Linked DNA regions of Homo sapiens: region 1 is linked to region 2. Evidence: promoter capture Hi-C in 16 types of primary human blood cells and fetal thymus (Javierre and others, 2016). All regions are on one chromosome and are shown on one strand. Each heading gives the region's core, a stretch centred on a gene start or on the middle of the fragment in contact. The rest is flanking DNA. Distances are from core to core; before and after follow the strand shown.

Region 1 (2,990 bases), core at 141-2,640, 270 kb after region 2:
TGTGTATATATACGTGTGTATACATACATGTGTGTATATATACACACATATGTGTGTATATACACATATGTGTGTATATATATGTGTATATACACATACACATATATATATACAAAATTGATGAAGAAGACAACACCCTACACCAGATTTTTATTTTGGAAGCAAATGCCATCAAAGATTTAGCTCTCAAAGGAGGAAGAGAAAGGCCCAAGAGTAATTGCAATGTTGGGTGCAAATGCCAGTGATGATTGTACAATCTACTGTTTTTATTGCTCTTGATATTACTGTTATGGTTGGTATTGTTTCTGTTGGTAGTTTGGTTACAAAGTTATATAAGTTTTTAGTGATCTATTACAATTCTTTTCCCCTAGGTCCTGTTATTTTTATTGTACAGTTTTGCAGGATGCATGATTTTTCAGAAACAAATACATAGATAAAGCAGAAATGCCTATACTTTTTTTTTTTTGAGACAGAGTCTCTCTCTGTCACTCAGGCTGGAGTGCAGTGGCATGATCTTGGCTCACTGCAGCCCTCCTGGGCCCAAGTGATTCTCATGCCTCAGCCTCCCAAGTAGCTGGGATAACAGGCACATGCCACCACACCCGGCTAATTTTGTATTTTTAGTAGAGACAGAGTTTCACCATGTTGACCAGGCTGGTCTCGAACTCCTGACCTCAGGTGATCTGCCTGCCTCGGCCTCTCAAAGTGCTGGGATTATAGGCGTGAGCCACCGTGCCTGGCCAGAAATGCCTATATTTTGAAGGAAGACCTCTCTAATCAGCAGTTTTCACACTGTAGTATGCGTATGAGAATCACCTTTAGAGCTCATTAAAAATGCAGATTCCCAAATCTTACCCCCAGCAACTGATTATATAAAGCTGAAATGGGAAGGAGAATCACAGTCCACAAATCTATCGGATGTCTCCAAGACCTCACCTACTAGCCCTCAGTGCCTTCTCCCCAGTGAGGCAAAAGCACGAAGCTGCTGACATTCGGGAGTCAGAGGCTTTTGCATTGGCATTCCCTCTCACCTTGATGGTGATGTGCCCGTGGACATTTTCCATTTCTCCCAGCATGGCTGATATCAAGGAGGATTTCCCAGAGCCGACAGGGCCTATCACAGCCACAAGTTGGCCTGCCATAATGTCCAGGTTCACACTGAAAGACAGGAATGTCTTTGAAGGAGATAGCAGGGGTTGGGTATTGAAGAGTAGTTCAAGTCACTTCTCTGAGTCTCCATGAAGTCTGGTATCAGGAGATTTCCCCTCAAGATTGGAAAATTTGCCTTGGATATACAAGACCCCAAAGTGCTTCTTTAATACTTTTTCTTTTTCTTTTCTTAGCTCTAAAAGGCTAGAGAATGAGCCCTAATGAGCCCTAATTTATCCAACTCATCTATAAGCTGTTTGTGACAAATGTGCATTTCCAATGATAAAATTCTCCTAGAACTAACATGGTTACCCATTGAACAAGACCCTAGTGGGGGCCTGGAGACCTGGCTTGGTTCAAGTCCCAACCCTGACACTGCTGGTCTATGTTATCTTGGAAGGTCACTTCCTTTGGACTAAGGACCCCTCCTTTCTTACTAATGGGATTGGACTAGATTAACATTTCCCAAATTAGGTACTAAATGTGTCACCTGGAACATTTGCTGAAAGTAGATTCCCTGGCCCTTCTCCTAAATATTTGACTGTATCTGGCTGAGTAGGGGCCCACAATGGGATAGGTTCCCGGAAACTGTGTGTGCCAGCCCTGTTATTTGAGTTTCTAGAACATTAGGAACATTAGGAACTTGTTCACAGTCTTTCTGAATCTGCGCATTGAGGTGAATTTCTTCCAGACCTATAACAGTGAAGTGGAAGCCCTGCCCAGTTTCCTCTCTGGAAAGGGAAACTGCTGGGTTAGGAAGGTTCAGAGCATGTGCTCCTGCCCCAACTCATCCTGGGGCTAGCTCTGGAGTCCATGTTAAAGGCTGTAGGAACAAGATAGAGGAGTGGGAAGTCAGGAGTATAGTAAGGAGACAGTAAGATGTGCTCAGTTGTGAAGAAACAAAGATATGGCCTATTCAGCCTCCTGGTGTACTCTGTGTGCTGTGCTCAGTGGATGAATTGGGTGTGCTATTACACATGGTGCTTAAGAGACACACTATGTGCAGAAGATACACACTGAGAAGCCAGATTCCAATGTTCCTGATTGCTATTCTTGAATGAATGAACTTATACTGAATTCAGGTTCTTGGGTTTGTCTTCTACCATACCCAGAGACGCCGGCCACCTGCCAACGCTGCACTACCTCCATCCACAATCTGCACACACAAATGTCTTCATGGGATCACAGCTGGATATTCATGGCCCCATAGTAGGAAAGCAGCATGGCAAATGCAGTTATCAGGGGAAGGGGCTGAGAACCTTTGCTTTCAGCTCATCTCTCCAGGGGTTTATCCTGCACTAGTATCTAACCGAAGACATGCACATAGCTCATTTCCCCATGCATTCTATTACATGGAATTTTCTGAGAATAGGCCAGGCAGTGAGAATGCTAAAGAACATTAGGATGGAAAGAAGGCAACTCACTCTCGGACTGTGGCTTCCGAATCATGTTCCCAGGTAAAGGAGGCCTCAGAAAACTGCATGGCTTTGTCTGTTGAGAAAAAGCCCTCTTTTAGTCCAATGTAGGTCCCCACGTGACTGTCTGCCCTCACGTGTCTCTCTCCGCTTTCTCCATCAGCTCCTAGGATTGTTTCTGCTAAGTGCTGGCTCCTACGCTAACAGGAGGTGAATGAAATCTCCTAGAATGAGACCATGAGACCAGAAGTGGCCTGCATATGAAGTCCTTTTTTTTTTTTTGAGTCATGGTCTCACTTTGTCACCCAGGATGGAGTGCAGTGGTGCAATCTTGGCTGACTGCCGCCTTGACTTTCCGGGCTCAAGAGATTCTCCGACCTCAGCCTCCAGGTAGCTGGGACTACAGGCATGCACCACCATGCCCCG
Region 2 (3,038 bases), core at 499-2,998:
TTCCCTTTTAAAAACAGCTTTATTGAGATACAATTTGCATATCATAGAATTCATCTGTTTTAAGTATGCAATTCAATGAATTTTAGTATATTTATCGAGTTGTATAGACATCACCATCACCACAATCTAATTTTAGAACATTTCTATCACTCTAAAAAGAAATTTTGTGTCCACTTGTGGTGTTTTGGGTCTGGCTTCTTTTACCAGGCATGTGTAAGATTCATTCACATTGTACAATATATTAGCACTCCACTCCTTTTTATTGTCAAATACTATTTCATTGTATGGATATGCCATATTTTGTTTATCCGCTCAGTGGTTAATGGACATTTGGGTTGTTTCCACTTTTTGTCTCTTGTGAACAATACTGCTATGGACATTTATGTACAAGTTTTTGTGTGGATGTGTGTTTTCATTTCTCTTGCATAGGTACCTAGGAGTGAAACTGTTGTATTATATAGTAAGTATATATTTAACCTTGTAAGAAACTGCTAAACTGTTTTCCAAACTGGCTGTACTATTTATTTGTTTATCTTTATTTTTTATTTTTTTTGAGATGGAGTCTCGCTCTGTCACCAAGCTGGAGTGCAGTGGCGTGATCTCAGCTCACTGCAACCTCCTCCTCTCAGGTTCAAGCAATTCTCCTGCCTCAGACTCCTGAGTAGCTGGGACTACAGGCGTGTGCCACCATGCCCAGCTAATTTTTGTATTTTTAGTAGAGAGGGGGTTTTGCCATGTTTGCCAGGATGATCTCGATCTCTTGACCTCGTGATCCACCTGCCTCGGCCTCTCAAAGTCCTGGGCTACAGGCATGAGCCACTGCACCTGGTCTGGCTGCACTATTTATGAGGGTTCCAGTTTCTCCCTATTCTCACCAACATTTGTTATTGTCTGTCTTTTTTATTGTAGCCATTCTAGTGGAGGTAAAGTATATTTCATGTGTGATTTTTGTTTGTTTGTTTTTTGAGATGAGGTCTCACTCTGTTGCCCAGGCTGGAGTGTAGTGGCATGATCATGGCTCACTTCAGGCCCCACCACCCAGGTTCAAGTGATTCTCTGCCTCAGCCTCCCTAGTAGCTGGAACTACAGGCATGCCATCACACCCAGCTAATTTTAAAAATATTTGTAGAGGTGGGGTCTTGCTATGTTGCCCAGGCTGATCTCAAACTCCTGGGCTCAAGTGATCCTCCCAATTTGGCCTCCCAAAGTGCTGAGATTATAGGCATGAGCCACCATGACTGGATCTCATGTGGTTTTAATTTGTATTTCCTTAATGACTAATGACACTGAACATCTTTAAATGTGCTTATTAGCCATTTGTATATCTATTTTGGTCAAATGTTTTGCCCATGTTTTAATTGGGTTGTTTGTTTTCTTATTGTATTGTAAGGATTCTTTACGTATTATGGGGGTATTATCGGATACATGATTTACAATTGTTTTCTCCCAGTCCGAGGCTAATCTTTTCCTTTTCTTAATGGCATCTGTTGAAAGATTTTTGAGGAAAAAAAGGACAAAATACAGCCATGCTTCAGAAAGATAGGCAGGCAGCAGTACGTGGGATGGATCAAAAGGGACAGAGAACTCTTTTTGAAAGTTGTAATAAAAGGAACAGGCACAGGCCAAGTTTTAAAAAATTCTCCAGGAATCAAAGGGTTATAAGCAGCTATTTATTGAAGCCTGTTTACAGTCCAGTTAACCAGTAAACCAGAATCAGTGAAACTACCCATCTGGGGAAGTGCAAAAAACCTTTCAAAAGGCTTTCCTGGATTAGAGAAAGAAAGGGAGTGAGGGAGGAGAGATGAGTGGCTATTCCAGAACGACATAAAGAATTTCCAGCCTTGGACGGACAGCTGGGAACGTCTTCCAATTTGGACTGGTGTTTACAAGCGGGAAGCTAGGTGGACCTTGGATTTTGGCGGGTGAAGAGGCTAGGTTGTTTAAGGAGGTGGGGCGCGTTTCAGTGGCTCTCTTTGAAAAAGCCCAGCAAGATGTCAGACCTGCTCTCAGTCTTCCTCCACCTCCTCCTTCTCTTCAAGTTGGTTGCCCCGGTGACCTTTCGCCACCACCGCTATGATGATCTTGTGCGGACGCTGTACAAGGTGCAAAACGAATGCCCCGGCATCACGCGGGTCTACAGCATTGGGCGCAGCGTGGAGGGGAGACACCTCTACGTGCTGGAGTTCAGCGACCACCCTGGAATCCACGAGCCCTGTAAGTTCTGAACAGCTCTTGAGGGTGTGTGGGGCAGGGCCTTTCCCTTGCAAATCCAGTAATTGGAGTGGTTTCTGGGGTGGTCCGTGGACGCCTCCGCCTACAAGGTATTATCTCTTTCTCAGCCTGTGCTATTTCCCTCTTAGCCCTCAAACTGCCACTGCCTCTGGGGAGCTATAACCCTCCTTCAGCCTTCAGATCTTTCCTCCTTTTTGGGTTCTGTTTGCTCAAAACTTTAATGGTAAAAGATGAGTCTTCTTCCCTGCTCATGTCCCATATCCCTTCATTTCCCCCATTTCCTTTCTTTTCCCCTTACTATTGTTCTGTCTTTCCCCACCCAATGGCTCAGGAGACATAGGCAAAAACAATGAGCCCTTCTAGTTCTGCCAGGAAACTTAGAAGGGTATAGGGGAATCTCTTCGGGGAGTGACAGTGTGGTATTCCAGAGAGAGTTTGGGGACTTGGGTGTCAGTTTTATTTACTGGATTCTTTTTTATTTTTTATTTTTTTGAGACGGGGTCTGGCTCTGTTGCCCAGGCTGGAATGCAGTGGCATGATCTCAGCTCACTGCAGCCTCCACCTCCTGGGCTCAGGTGATCCTTTCCCCTCAGCCTCCTAGGTAGCTGGGACCACAGGCATGCACCAATACGCCCGGCTAATTTTTGTATTTTTAGTAGAGACAGGGTTTCATCATGTTAACCAGGCTAATCTCAAACTCCTGGGCTCAGGCGATCCACCCACCTTGGCCTCCCAGTGTTGGGATTACAGGCGTGAGCCACCGCACTTAGCCTGGATTCCTTTTTTTAGTTTGTTTCTACTGTAAA

Evidence for each region. Contacts are between HindIII fragments. The CHiCAGO score rates a contact against its expected background, and 5 or more counts as called.
Region 1: a contact is called between a fragment that was not itself captured here and the fragment with the promoter of CPN1 in region 2, in 1 of 17 cell types (neutrophils). The highest score is 6.1, in neutrophils.

The regions. Positions count from the first base shown.
Region 1 is chr10:99,811,186-99,814,175 of GRCh38, reverse strand. ABCC2 (ATP binding cassette subfamily C member 2) reads right to left here. Exons shown (of 32, transcript NM_000392.5): 15 at 2,574-2,640; 16 at 1,032-1,158. Among named protein-coding and RNA genes, the nearest start is that of ABCC2, 30 kb to the right of the region's middle. The HindIII fragment of the contact is 6,218 bases long and covers 1-2,990 here.
Region 2 is chr10:100,080,579-100,083,616 of GRCh38, reverse strand. It overlaps CPN1 (carboxypeptidase N subunit 1), which reads left to right and starts at 1,748. Exons shown (of 9, transcript NM_001308.3): 1 at 1,748-2,214. The coding sequence starts at 1,992. The HindIII fragment of the contact is 7,883 bases long and covers 1-3,038 here.